Regions from separate parts of the Homo sapiens genome. Here all the other regions are linked to region 1. Evidence: promoter capture Hi-C in 16 types of primary human blood cells and fetal thymus (Javierre and others, 2016). All regions are on one chromosome and are shown on one strand. Each heading gives the region's core, a stretch centred on a gene start or on the middle of the fragment in contact. The rest is flanking DNA. Distances are from core to core; before and after follow the strand shown.

Region 1 (4,461 bases), core at 45-2,544:
TTATCTGTAAATTCTAGACATTGTATGAGAAAGCACTGTAAAACTTTTTGTTCTGTTAGCTGATGTATGTAGCCCCCAGTCACGTTTCTCACGCTTACTTGATCTATTATGACTTTTTCACGTAGACCCCTTAGAGTTGTAAGCCCTTAAAAGGGCTAGGAATTTCTTTTTCGGGGAGCTCGGCTCTTAAGACACGAGTCTGCCGACGCTCCCGGCCGAATAAAAAAACCTCTTCCTTCTTTAATCTGGTGTCTGAGGAGTTCTGTCTGCGACTCGTCCTGCTACAACAGAATGGGACAATACAATGCATGTCATGTAAAAGTAACTCCGGCCGGGCGCGGTGGCTCACGCCTGTAATCCCAGCACTTTGGGAGGCCGAGGTGGGCGGATCACGATGTCAGGAGATCGAGACCATCCTGGCTAATACGGTGAAACCCTCTCTCTACAAAAATACAAAAAATTAGCCGGGCGTGATGACGAGCGCCTGTAGTCCCAGCTACCCGGGAGGCTGAGGCAGGAGAATGGCGTGAACCCGGGAGGCGGAGCTTGCAGTGAGCCGAGATCGCGCCACTGCACTCCAGCCTGGGCGACAGAGCAAGACTCCGTCTCAAAAAAAAAAAAAAAAAAAAAGTAACTCCTATAATCTTAAGTACTAGTGTAATATAAAACTATACGCATGCTCCAGAGAAGTCATCCTGGCAACCTCTCTGGAAGGAGTTTGAAATAAACCGTATCTTTCTCAACACGCTTGTACACCCCAAGTCTAGCATAGTCACACAACAGAGAAGTTCAGTCTGGCAACACACTACAGCCGGAGACAAACTAGGTGGCCACCGTGATGGTTCAAGCCAGGAACTAGTTAATTAAAGGTTGAGGTGAGCAGGCTTGTCTGCGACATTTGCATATTTCTGACTTGCGTACTTAGAAGACGAAGGCCAGTACCCTTAAGACTGATGGTTTCCGAAAGAAACACTGTCGTCTCTAGTTGCTGTCCTCCTTCCTCCTCCCTGTCTATCCCGGAGAAAAGACCCTCAGAGAAACACCCACACTTAGTCTCTGGCCCTCGGCTCCCAGGAACGCTGCCGGAGCAACACCGCCGTCTAGGCTGGACGCTGAGAGAGGATCGTCCACGACTCACTTCAAGGCTGAACCAAGAAAACACAGTAAAGGAACTTGCCGGCGGCCGCGACGGTAGCGTCAGTTAGAAATCAGGTCTCCAGTGTTCCCAGTTCCCACCAGTCCAACTGCGAGGAGTGCGACGTGAGTCTGAGTCTGATCCCTCCGAAAACCGTACTTCCGGCGCTGTCTCGGAGGCCTCCCGTCCCCTCCCTTGTCCGTCTTCTAACTCTTCCCCACGCCAGGTCCGTCAAGCCTAAGTCCTTGAGTTCCGGGTCCGGGCAGCAGAGAAAGGAAGTCCTCTCCCTGGAGGCCTATCTCCCTCAGAACTGCGCGAGAAGCGAGACCTTAGAAGGCAGGGCTTCCCGCGAAGGACCGGAAAGGAGCGCCTACTAAGGACGCCGTCGAGGTCCGGGGCGCCTCAACTCTATAGCTCTAACTGGCTAGAAGTGCCCAACGTGGAATGTTTCTTTTTTAAAGGCGGCTCTTGAAGCGACCCGGAAGCGGAAGTGGAAGAAAGTTCTAGTGGCTTGAGGTATCCGCAGGAGCGGCCGGGTGGCGGGAGGAACCGTTACGGGAACTGAAGTTGCGGGTGAGCGCCAGCCGCGGAGCAGGGCCCTGATTGGAGGCCAGAGGGGTTGCGGGGAGAAGGGGAGGAGAGGGGTCGCAGGCGCTGTGGCGGGCCCTGGGGGAGAGCTTGGCCGCGCTGCGGGGAGGGGGCGGGGTGCAGCGCGTGGGAGCCGGGCCGCGGGAAGGGGCGGGCCGCAGCGGCGCGCGGTGGGGGCGGAGCTGGGGCGCGGCGTGAACCCCGCGGGCGGGGAGCGGGTGTGCGCAGCGCTAGGTGTGCGCTTCGCCCTGTAGGTAGAGAGACCCTTTGGTTAGCTTTCCACGCCAAGTGGCCGTTCCAGGCAGGCAGTGTCGTCTTGGTTCAGCCAAGGTCACAGAGGGAGTGATAGCTTCCGCGCAGCCCTGGCTACGGACTCTGGGCATCTTTCCACTGCCCCGCTTGCGCCACCTGTTAGGCAGGATCGTTTTTCCTCTGGGGCAAGATCAAAATCCAGGTCCTGCAGGAAGAAACTCCTCTTAAAAATAGTAGGGAAGAGTCTCCCTGGAACTGTTTTCTCCTTTCAGGATGAGGGGGATCGAGCAAGCCACTGTAACCCCTGGCTTGGCTTCCTCTTACTATGAGATTGCTCGTGGGCCCTTAGAAGTTCCAGGTCTTCAGCCCTAATCTGCCTTTTTTTTGGGATTCCTAGATTAAGCCTGATCAAGATGACAACCTCCCAAAAGCACCGAGACTTCGTGGCAGAGCCCATGGGGGAGAAGCCAGTGGGGAGCCTGGCTGGGATTGGTGAAGTCCTGGGCAAGAAGCTGGAGGAAAGGGGTTTTGACAAGGTGTGGGGTGGCTGCGTGTACCTAGTGCAAGCGGGGGGTGGAAGGGAAGTGATTCCATCTGCTGGGGGATGGACAGTAAGGTATAATCTGAAGAGGCTGCCAGAGCCTGGGCACCTGGTGGAGAGGAGAGGGGGGCAAAACCCGCGCTGCTTCCTGGGCTTGTGTGCTCTGAATGGCACAGGAATGGCTGTCTTGCTCTTATCTCTCACTGAGCACTGAGCAGCACGCTCCTTCCTTTTCCCTGTTTTGCAGGCCTATGTTGTCCTTGGCCAGTTTCTGGTGCTAAAGAAAGATGAAGACCTCTTCCGGGAATGGCTGAAAGACACTTGTGGCGCCAACGCCAAGCAGTCCCGGGACTGCTTCGGATGCCTTCGAGAGTGGTGCGACGCCTTCTTGTGATGCTCTCTGGGAAGCTCTCAATCCCCAGCCCTCATCCAGAGTTTGCAGCCGAGTAGGGACTCCTCCCCTGTCCTCTACGAAGGAAAAGATTGCTATTGTCGTACTCACCTCCGACGTACTCCGGGGTCTTTTGGGAGTTTTCTCCCCTAACCATTTCAACTTTTTTTTGGATTCTCGCTCTTGCATGCCTCCCCCGTCCTTTTTCCCTTGCCAGTTCCCTGGTGACAGTTACCAGCTTTCCTGAATGGATTCCCGGCCCCATCCCTCACCCCCACCCTCACTTTCAATCCGTTTGATACCATTTGGCTCCTTTTTTGGCAGAACAGTCACTGTCCTTGTAAAGTTTTTTAGATCAATAAAGTCAGTGGCTTTCATGACTGGGCTTTGTGCACTGAAAAGCAAGTGGGCTGGGAGTTGCCTCTCCTTCAGGGACTGACCATGTTTCCCTCACTCCTTATCAGTAGAGACCGAAACTGGCAGCTTCCCTTCCACTCCCAGAGGGCAGCCACCCTAGCCATGTAGGCCTCAGGCAGGTGACTTTTGTCTCAATCCCCGAGTGATGTGGGAGAGGGTGTGGGTGGATCTTTTCCTGGGAGCCAGATGGACTGTGCTCCAGATGTCAGTTAAGTCAACAGCTGGGCTAGGCAGCACCTGGTGGAAAAGTCAGTGGGAGTCAGAGGTACCAGACAGGGTGGGCCGGATGTGGGTGAGAGTTCACCTGCCAGTCATCATCTGCTCTCCCGGCCTCTGTAAGGGTGGGCAGGGTGCTTGCCATCTTCCATGATCTCTTAGGGAGGAGAAGGAGCACAGGCATCACAGCTGGAAGGATGTGAGGGGAGTACACCTCAGTACATTTTAGTCCTGTTCTTTTTGTTTACTTTTTAACTTAATAGGGACAGGGCCCTGCTCTGTTGCCCATGCTGGCCTTAAGCGATCCTTAAGCCTCCCAAAGCGCTGTGACTATAGGTGTGAGCCACCATACCCGGCCAGCCCTATTATTTCTTGAACACTTAGTATGAACCAGGCTTGAAGCTAAAATCTTTGCAAACATTTTTTTCTTTCACAGTAATAAATATTTTCTCCTTTACAGGTGAGGAAATTTGAGGCTCAGAGAGGCTAATTTGCCCATGGACTTGCTCCTGGGAAGTAGCCAGACTGGAACTCAAACTAGCTTGGAAACCCAGGGACCCGGCCATGTGTTCCTTGGTCATGTGGCTTAGCCTCTCTGAGCCTCAGTTTCTCCACTTGGAAAATGAGGTGGTTGTAGGGAAAGGATATTTGCAGCAGTATAAACAACAAAGGACTATTTCCATAGCACATACAGAATTGCAATCAAGAAAAAAGCGGACTGGCTGGGCGCAATGGCTCACGTTTGTAATCCCAGCACTTTCAGAGGCCGAGGTGGGTGGATCACCTGAGGTCAGGAGTTCAAGACCAGCCTGGCCAACATGGTGAGACCCCATCTCTACCAAAAATACAAAAATTAGCCGGGTGTGGTGGTGCACGCCTATAATCCCAGCTACTCAGGAGACTAAGGCAGGAGAATCGAAC
Region 2 (4,461 bases), core at 1,095-3,594, 400 kb before region 1:
AATCCTTCTAAAATGCAAACCTGTTAAAGACAGGTCTCTGCTTAAAAACTACCCATCACTTCCAGCTTCATTCACTCATTCATTCAATCAACATCTACTGACCCATGTGCCTTGGCCCCTGTCCGCAGCCCCAGTCCTGAGACTCCTCGGCTCTCAACTCTTCTCGGAGTTCAGCCAGGTTGCCTTTTCCTTGGGTATGGTGAGCTGCATGCCTGCGCACACACTATTCACTCTGGGTGGCTGACCTTTCCCACCTTGGCTTTCAGTGACCTCTTATGCACCATCCAAGACCAACTGGGATGTCACTTCCTCTGTGAAGCCCTCCCAGAATCTCCCTGAACCTACACAGTTATTGCTCACGTTATGCCTCATAGAGGTGCTACTGGACTTGTTTATGAGTCTGCCTGCTTCATCATATGAGGTCAGGGCAGTGTTTAACATGTTGATGCCTGGCTCTTAAAATGCAAATCCCTGGGCCAGGCGCGGTGGCTCACATCTGCAATCCCAGCACTTTGGGAGGCCCAGGTGGGATGATCACGAGGTCAGGAGATCGAGACCATCCTGGCTAACACGGTGAAACCCTGTCTCTACTAAAAACACAAAAAATTAGCCAGGCGTGGTGGTGGGCGCCTGTAGTCCCAGATACTCAAGAGGCTGAGGCAGGAGAATGGCATGAACCCAGGAGGCGGAGCTTGCAGTGAGCCAAAATCACACCACTGCACTCCAGCCTGGGCAACAGAGCGAGACTCCGTCTCAAAAAAAAAAAAAAGCAAATTCTTGTTTGATGAAGAATCCATTTTTATAATCCTTGCACCAACCACGAGGTTATCATATCACCCCCACTTCGCAGGTGAAGAACTGATCATTTACAGTGAGTTTAAACAGAAGAGGGGAAATCATGTTTAAAAAAAAGAAAGAGTTGGCCGGGTGCGGTGGCTCACACCTGTAATCCCAGCACTTTGGGAGGCCAAGGTGGGCGGATCACGAGGTCAAGAAATCGAGACCATCCTGGCCAACATGGTGAAACCCTGTCTCTACTAAAAAATACAAAAATTAGCAGGGCATGGTGGCACGCACCTGTAGTCTCAGCTACTTGGGAGGCTGAGGCAGGAGAATCGCTTGAACCCAGGAGGCGGAGGTTACAGTGAGCCGAGATCCCGCCACTGCGCTCCAGCCTGGGTGACAGAGTGAGACTCCATCTCAAAAAAAAAAAAAAAAAAAGCAAGAGAGGCTGGGAGTGGTGGCTCAAGCCTATAATCCCAGCACTTTGGGAGGCCAAGTAGGGCAGATCACTTGAGGTCAGGAGTGCATGACTAGCCTGGCCAACATGGTCAAACCCTGTCTCTACTAAATACAAAAATTAGGCCGGGCATGGTGGTTCACGCTTGTAATCCCAGCACTTTGGGAAGCTGAAGCAGGTGGCTCACTTGAGGTCAGGAGTTCGGGACCAGCCTGGTCAACATGGTGAAACCTCATCTCTACTACAAATACAAACATTAGCCGGGCATTGTGGCACATGCCTGTAATCCCTGCTACTTGGGAGGCTGAGGCAGGAGAATCACTTGAACCTGGGAGGTGGAGGTTGTAGTGAGCCGAGATTGCACCACTGCCCTCCAGCCTGGGCAACAGAATGACACTTCATCTCAAAAAAAAAAAAATTAGCTGGGCATGGTGGCACATGCCTGTAATCCCAGCTACTGGGGAGGCTGAGGGAGAATTGCTTGAACGTGGGAGGTGGAGGCTGAAGTGAGCTGAGGTCGCACCACTGCACTCCAGCCTGGGTGACAGAACAAGACTCCTTCTAAAAAAAAAAAAAGAAAATAGCAAGAGCAAGCTGGGTGTGGTGGCTCACACCTGTAATGCCAGCACTTTGGGAGGCTGGGGTGGGTGGACTACTTAAGCGCAGCCCAGCCTGGGCAACATGGCAAAACCCCATCTCTACAAAAAATATAAAAATTAGCCAAGCATGGCATGCACCTGTAGTCCCTGCTACTCAGGAAGCTGAGGTGGGAGGATCACTTGAGCCTGGGAGGCAGAGTTTGCAGTGAGCCATGATCATGCCATTGCAGTCCAGCCTGGGTAACAGAATGAGACTCTATCTTTAAAAAAATAAAAGACAGAAATGAGACAAAGGGAAGAGAAGATAGGGTCCAGCAGACAAAATGAGAGTGAACAGAAGTTCCTGCAGTCAATGGCCTGAGAAACTGAGGTTCTGAAGGGTAAGGGACTTGGTCAACATAATCCAGCTAGGATTTGAATCTGCCTCTAAGCTTCCTGGCAGCAAGAGTTAGCAACTCTGTTGTTTAGGAGAAAGCTGCGTGACTATTCTTGACCCAAAGATAGATAGATAGAGGCGAAACTGCTTCCGTGAGGTCTCACAGGGAGGACACAGCCACGTAGTTATTGGCTCTAAGGCAACAAGCTTCACAGGGCAGTTGCTATCAGCGTAGCTGAGTGCACCCTGCCAATGTGCCACTCCTTGCAGCCAGCTCTCCAGGGACCAGAACAGCCCACTGGGGACAGGGTGAGGGTGTGTGTGACTCTCCAGTGGTATGGCTTATGCCGGGGACCATCTCACAGGGTCTGGGACCTCTGTGAAGCCCCATTATTTGATTCTTAGCTGGGTTTCGGGGGGTGGCTGTGAGGTCAATGTCATGTACTTTCATGGACCCAGATGATGCGTGGAGTGTGGGATTGGGCTAGGGGAACCAGATGCTCAGCCAGCCACTGAGCTGGGCAGCTGACATCCTTTCAGGGCAAGTGGCAATCCATTTCTTCATCAGCCAGGAAGGGCACTGGTGTTGAGGCCGACATACTTATCAAGAACAGTAACTACCATGGTTTCCAGTGCTTTCATGAAACCTCAGACATGTGGCCTTCTGGCCACACATCTGCAATTTCATATTGTGGGAGCATTCACTGTATCCCTGGGGGCTGCGGCTCTCTCAGTTTGCAGGGGCTGGACCAAGAAAGAAGGCATTTCAGATTTCTATGGGCACAGATGTCTACAGAAGTTATGATGCCATGAAATACTTCGAGGAGATGAGGAAGGCTGCTATCTCTCAGAATGCAAAGTGATTTTGGAATATGAAGAATTTCTTTGGGTTGAATTACTTAGAAGTTTGTCACTGATCTGAACTATTCATGAATATATGGGCTAATAAGTAGTTTCTCTTCATAAATAATTAACAAATTCTTTGGATAAAAAAACATGGGGCAAGCTTGAGAACGATGGGGCCCAGGCCCCTTGTGCCCCTGCTTCTGGGAGCTGAGGGCCAGAGAGTTCTGTGGAACAGTCAGGACCTGCTTCAGCCTACACACCTGGGTTGACAGGCTCTCAAGTTCTCCTTTGGCCCATCTGGCCTGGTACAATTTAGAGCAAGTGAATTCAAGAAGCCTCCTTGGCCTTCCAGCTCTCAGTTCAGTCCCTGCAGGACAGATGCTGGGGGCAGTGCAGCTGCTGGAGTAGCAAATGGCGGGGCAGATGGAGGCCCAGGGCTCTGCCTCTGTGGTCAGACAGGCAAGAGCAGATCAAATCCCTGCTCTACTGGTTGCCTTACATCAAACCACTTAATCTCTCTGTGCCTCAGTTTTCTCTGTTGTAAAATGCAGGCCAATACTACTACTCCCCTCACAGAACTGCTTGGCACATAGAAGAGAACCAACAAAGGTTAGCTGTTGTTACAACTATCAAGTGTAGCTCAGGGAATGGAAGAGGCGATGGGCTGGGTGGGATGGGAGGAGTGAGTTTAAACGGCTTGCTGAACAGGACTCTTCTGAGAGCAGCTAAGCGGGTCCTACATTCTGGCTGTGAGCAGCAGGTGTGGGGGCTCTGAGGATGGTCCCTAGGTTGGCACAGGGACCCACAGGCAAGGGAGGCCATAACTCTCTGGCCTCACTCAGAGCTGGGCAGTGTTGAGCTGAGTGAGCCCTCCTCCCTGCAATGCTGGAGCCCTGCCTTCTGCCTGACCCTCTGGCTTCCTAAGCAGTCTATACGTGAGAAGCCCTTTCTTCAAGTGAAAGCTTCTGAGCTCACTACGAGAGCATTGGAGCTGAAGCCTCTCTGGGTTCAAATCCTCAGCTGGGGGTTTGAGGTAGGTTACTTCACCTCTCAGAGCCTCAGTTTCCTTATCTGCAAAATGGGGTAATAGTAGCCCCTCTTCATCAATGCTTGGAGGGAATGCCTGGCACAGTAGGGCAGTTACCGTCATGGAGAACAGAAAGGCCCCGAGCTATCCTGGATGTGGTGAGAATGGGTCCTGGATCCTGCCTGCTCGGCCTTCTCATTCTCTTCTTCACCTACAGGCTCCCAGAAGGGGCTCTGAGAAGCACAGTGTGGCTGACACTTGTTTGGCTCCACCCCACACAGGCTGATTCCTTCCCCCATCTGGGTCCAGCTTCCCTTGGGTACCAAATGCCAGGTGGGCTTCCTGTCTTTCTTTTCTCCCTGGAGCCTGCTAA
Region 3 (4,184 bases), core at 1-2,500, 360 kb before region 1:
ACATTCCTTGCTTGGACAGCAGTGCCCCTGAGAGTGGCACACCTATGGGTGCCCTGGGCGACTGGCCTGCCCCTATTGAGGAGCGTGAGAGCCCGGCAGCCCAGCCCCTGCTGGAACACCAGTACTGAGCTACCTGGCGCCCACTGGACCACCTCCTAGGATTCAGTAACGGACCTGCTCTGCTGCCTCTCTGCTGGACCACAGAACTGAGTGGCTTTGGCCTACATGTCTGAACCCTGACCTTTGGCTGCCTTGGCCAGAGTACCAAAACTGAGTGACCCAGACCTCTGACCTTGACCCCTGATCTCTCTCATCCCCAGTCCAGGGCCTGGGCTCCCCAGATGGAGGCAGTCAGCCTCCCAGCCAGGCCCTAAGAGCCAAACCATGGGCTGGTCCCACTTGGAGCCTGTGGCCAGGACCACCTCAGCCCCTGGGCCTGCACTGCCTGCAGGTGTGGCCCCCTTGGCCTGGACCTGGGGCCTGAATTGTGGGAAGGGTGGTTTCTTTCTTTCCTTTTTTTTCTTTTCTTTTTTTTTTTTTTTTTTGTGCTTCGGAGACATCAGAATTAATAACACTATTTTTGATTTTGGTTGGCAGTTTCTTTTTCTACCTGGGAATGGGTACATGATAGTACAGGCGGCTAAGTTGGGATGGACAAGCACGCAGAGGGGTGAAGGATGTGGGGCTGAAGTCTAGTAGAGATCAAGGGCAGACCAAGGTGGGGTTCAGGTAGAACCGGGTCCTCTTCACCGCATGGCTGCTCCCTTTTCAAGCCTTTATCTGAAGGGTATTGTCTGCCATTTCCCACCATATGGTCAGACTTCCAGGTCTGGTGGCTCCTACATTTATCAGGCTTGTTCTTGGCCAAAGCCTTTCTCTGCACCTCAGCTGCTCCAGGGCGTAAAGAGATGACACCTATCTAAGGTGTTTTTAGAATAAATGAGAGCGCGCTAGTGGAATGGTTGCCCAGGGCCCAGTGCTTAGCAAGTGCTCCATAAAATAGTGGCAGACTCTTGAGCACCTGCTGGCCGGGAGCTGGACGCTAGGTGGCCTCCGCTAGCCCTCCCGGTTGGTCTGGAAGGCAGGCACAAGTTTCTCAGGAGAGGAAATGGCCTTAGAATGAGCACTGCTCGGTGCTGACCTCCGCCAGGCCTGGAATCCCCGCTGCTGCGCTTCCCGCCGCAGACAGCTCCCGGCCGGCCCCGCCTCCCGGCATGGCCCCGCCTCCCAGCATGGCCCCGCCCCCAGGCGGAGCCGGCGCCGGGAGCGGTAGCGGGAGAGCGGCAGCGGGACCCCAGCGCGGGCGGCGGCGGCTGGGCGGGAGCCCCAGAGGTACTGGCGGGAGCAGGGGACGGGAGGCACTACTGTCGGGCCCGACAGGGGAGAGGTGGCCTAGCCGTGGGCCCGGGTGATGTGTATGGGAGTGGGGTCCTCGCCACGTTCGCCGCCAGCACCCTCCCAACTTCCCTCCGGGCTCCAGCTCAGTCCCGAGTCAATATGTCCAGCCCCCTGTCTCTGACCAGCCGTTCCTACTCTCTCTGTGTGACGGCTTAGCCTGGCCAGCCAGCCGGTGAGTGGAAGCGGCGGCTCCTGACTCCTGGTGGCGGCACTGTGACCCCCTCCCCCTCAACACTGCAAGTGTGTGCGGGGCTCCCCCTTATTCTGAGGCTCCTCTTCTTCTTAGGCGGCCTCCACCCCAGTCCCTGGCCTGGCCTGGGAGGAAACATCTGTCGCGCCCCCTGGCAGCCGAAATGGGGTCATGACCTCCAGATGTGCTGGGAAGTGGCCAGCTCCTCCTCCTGGGGCAGCCAGGCCTTCCGGATCTGTGGGGGCGGGGCCGGCCCTTTCCCCCCACCCCTAGTGACACAGGCCCGGAGGAATGTCCTAGCCTCAATGGACCCTGTGTGAAGCTTCAGGGTGGGGGGCAGAGCCCGAGAACACCCCTCAAGGCAGCGCCAGAGCCTGGCACTGGGCCACAGCAAGAGGCAGCGCACAGGCTGGGTGCACACATGCACAGATCTCACTTCCAAGCGTGCAGAGCTCAGCCCACAAGGAGCGGGGCTTGCACAGACCCCCTCCCTCATGCCCTCCTACTCCTTCACACACTATAGCCCAGGCCCGAGCGCTGAATGTGCCCAGAGCTTGGCTCATGGAGCCAGGGGCTACACCCGTCACACACACACATAGCTAGCGACACTCACCTCATTCTTCTCAGTCTCTCAGCAGCCTTGGGAGGGGACAGAAATAATTAAACCCAATTTTTTTCTTTGTTTTTTTGGAGACAGTCTCACTCTGTCCCGCAGGCTGGAGTTCAGTGGCGCGATCTCGGCTCACTGCAACCTCTGCCTCCCAGGTTTAAGCGATTCTCCTGCCTCAGCCTCCTGAGTGGCTGGGACTACAGGTGCGCACCACCACACCCGGCTAATTTTTATGTTTTTAGTAGAGACAGGGTTTCACCATGTTAGCTAGGCTGGTCTTGAACTCCTGACCTCAGGTGATCCCCCCGCCTTGGCCTCCCAAAGTGCTGGGATTACAGGCCACAGCCACCGCACCCGGCCAGTTAACCCCATTTTAGAGATGAGAAAACAGAGGCTCAAGGTCAGCATGGGAGTTTATTCAGGAGAAATCAAGGTAGAAGCACCTGGGCTGGGGAGCCGACTCTTGCTTGGTTCTGGAGGCCCCAGACGAAGGGTGTGTGGAGCCCCTCCTCCACCCCCCTCCGGCCCAGCCCCGCATGATGTTGCTGGATGCTGCATGAAGACCCACCATTAGATGCCTGTACCCCCAGTGGAGGTTCCCCAGCTCCCTGTCCTCACTGCCTACTCCATCCAGGGCTTGCCTGGGTGTGGCTTCCCTCAAGTTCTCACACCACCATTTGCACCTGCCTCTGGCGTCACGTTTCCGCACTTAGCAGGTCCCTGGGGCTTTGGGTGTCTCAATCTTGCATCCTGTGAGACCTTGAACCTCAGCCCAACACCCACCCCCCAAAACCTACGCACACAGACAGCAGTGGGCAGGTGCAGCCCTGCTTAGGGCCTGGAGATGGGCAGACCCAGGCTCACATCCTAGCTCTGACACGGAATTGCTTCAGGCAAGAGCATCTCCTCTGGACCTCATCTGACCATCTGTCACATGGGGTTCAGACCTCCCTGTCTGCATCAGTGAGACCAGGTAGGCAGAGGTCCCTATGGGTCCCTGTCATTGTGACTCCTCTTGCCCCCAAGCCTGGGCACAGTAGCCTGCAAGAAGGTGAGTTGGCCTGTCCTTCAGGGCAGGGTGACTGGGGTCCCATGACAGCTGCTGTGACCCCAGCACCTTCCTCAGGATGTGGGGGCCTGGCAGAGGGCTGGGCCCACAGTTGGGGCTACTTCCTGTGCTGAAGGAAGTCCTCTTGCCATTCCTGCTGCCCTGCCGCTGCCTCCCTGGGAACCCATGTGTCCTTGTGGTATTGAGGCCTTGAGGTCCAGGGCACTGAGATCAGACCTCTCTGGGTGATCAGCTCTCCAGGGACCCTGAAGGAAGTGGGAGGGGCAAGGAGGAAGGTCTCTGGGGACAGGACGTCCTCCCTTTGTTAAGTGGGCAGGACCCAGACACCAGTGGCCCCTGGGTTTCCCGTCCCAGCCAATACAAGTCATCTGTCCGGTTGGGCTAGGTCCTGGTGGGACCCTTACTCTGGGCCCAGGCCAAAGCTAAGGTGTGTGGGTGGCGACTGGGGGACCCTGGCAGTCCCAGGGCTGCCCAGGCTCCAGGACCCTCAGGACCAAGACCCAACAGCCCAGCCTCTAGCCTTGCCCAGCTAAGCTGGGGAGGGGGCTGGAAACTTTAGCCCTAGGCAGACAAGGAAGTGGCCTGGAAAGCGGAAGCAGCTTTGATGGTCTCGGAGGGGGCCGGAAGCCAACACGGGTGGTGGAGGACCAGGCTGGGGGCCTGGGTTCCTGTTTTCTGCCCAGGCCCCTCTGAGCAGCCCCCTCCTCCTTCAGGGCAGGAACTGCTGCCACAACCTCAGGCTGGGCACCAAACACCCGTGCCCGCCAATGCGGCCCAGCCCCCGGAGAGTCAGGCCCACAGAGCATGCCCATGTGGGCCGGCGGTGTGGGGAGCCCTCGGCGGGGCATGGCCCCTGCGTCCACAGATGACCTCTTTGCCCGCAAGCTGCGCCAGCCAGCAAGGCCCCCGCTGACACC

Evidence for each region. The method cuts DNA at HindIII sites, captures the fragments that hold promoters and counts their contacts. A CHiCAGO score of 5 or more calls a contact.
Region 2: a contact is called between a fragment that was not itself captured here and the fragment with the promoter of EIF1AD in region 1, in 8 of 17 cell types (naive B cells, total B cells, total CD4 T cells and 5 more). The highest score is 10.0, in naive B cells.
Region 3: the fragment with the promoter of SIPA1 here is called in contact with the fragment with the promoter of EIF1AD in region 1 in 8 of 17 cell types (endothelial precursors, total B cells, erythroblasts and 5 more); the score reaches 7.2 in endothelial precursors.

The regions. Positions count from the first base shown.
Region 1 is chr11:66,000,863-66,005,323 of GRCh38, forward strand. EIF1AD (eukaryotic translation initiation factor 1A domain containing) reads right to left here and starts at 1,295. Exons shown (of 6, transcript NM_001242481.2): 1 at 1,048-1,295. It overlaps BANF1 (barrier to autointegration nuclear assembly factor 1), which reads left to right and starts at 1,641. Exons shown (of 3, transcript NM_003860.4): 1 at 1,641-1,708; 2 at 2,373-2,511; 3 at 2,764-3,287. The coding sequence starts at 2,389. The coding sequence ends at 2,910. RefSeq lists enhancers at 993-1,362, 2,370-3,176 and a silencer at 1,663-2,002. The HindIII fragment of the contact is 20,996 bases long and covers 1-4,461 here.
Region 2 is chr11:65,601,001-65,605,461 of GRCh38, forward strand. The region is part of intron 8 of MAP3K11 (mitogen-activated protein kinase kinase kinase 11); the gene reads right to left. Among named protein-coding and RNA genes, the nearest start is that of KCNK7, 7.4 kb to the left of the region's middle. The HindIII fragment of the contact is 152 bases long and covers 2,269-2,420 here.
Region 3 is chr11:65,636,851-65,641,034 of GRCh38, forward strand. It overlaps SIPA1 (signal-induced proliferation-associated 1), which reads left to right and starts at 1,251. Exons shown (of 16, transcript NM_006747.4): 1 at 1,251-1,332; 2 at 3,981-4,184. The coding sequence starts at 4,072. It overlaps PCNX3 (pecanex 3), which reads left to right. Exons shown (of 35, transcript NM_032223.4): 35 at 1-589. The coding sequence ends at 128. RefSeq lists enhancers at 72-862, 1,814-1,883 and a silencer at 1,094-1,463. The HindIII fragment of the contact is 3,649 bases long and covers 1-1,908 here.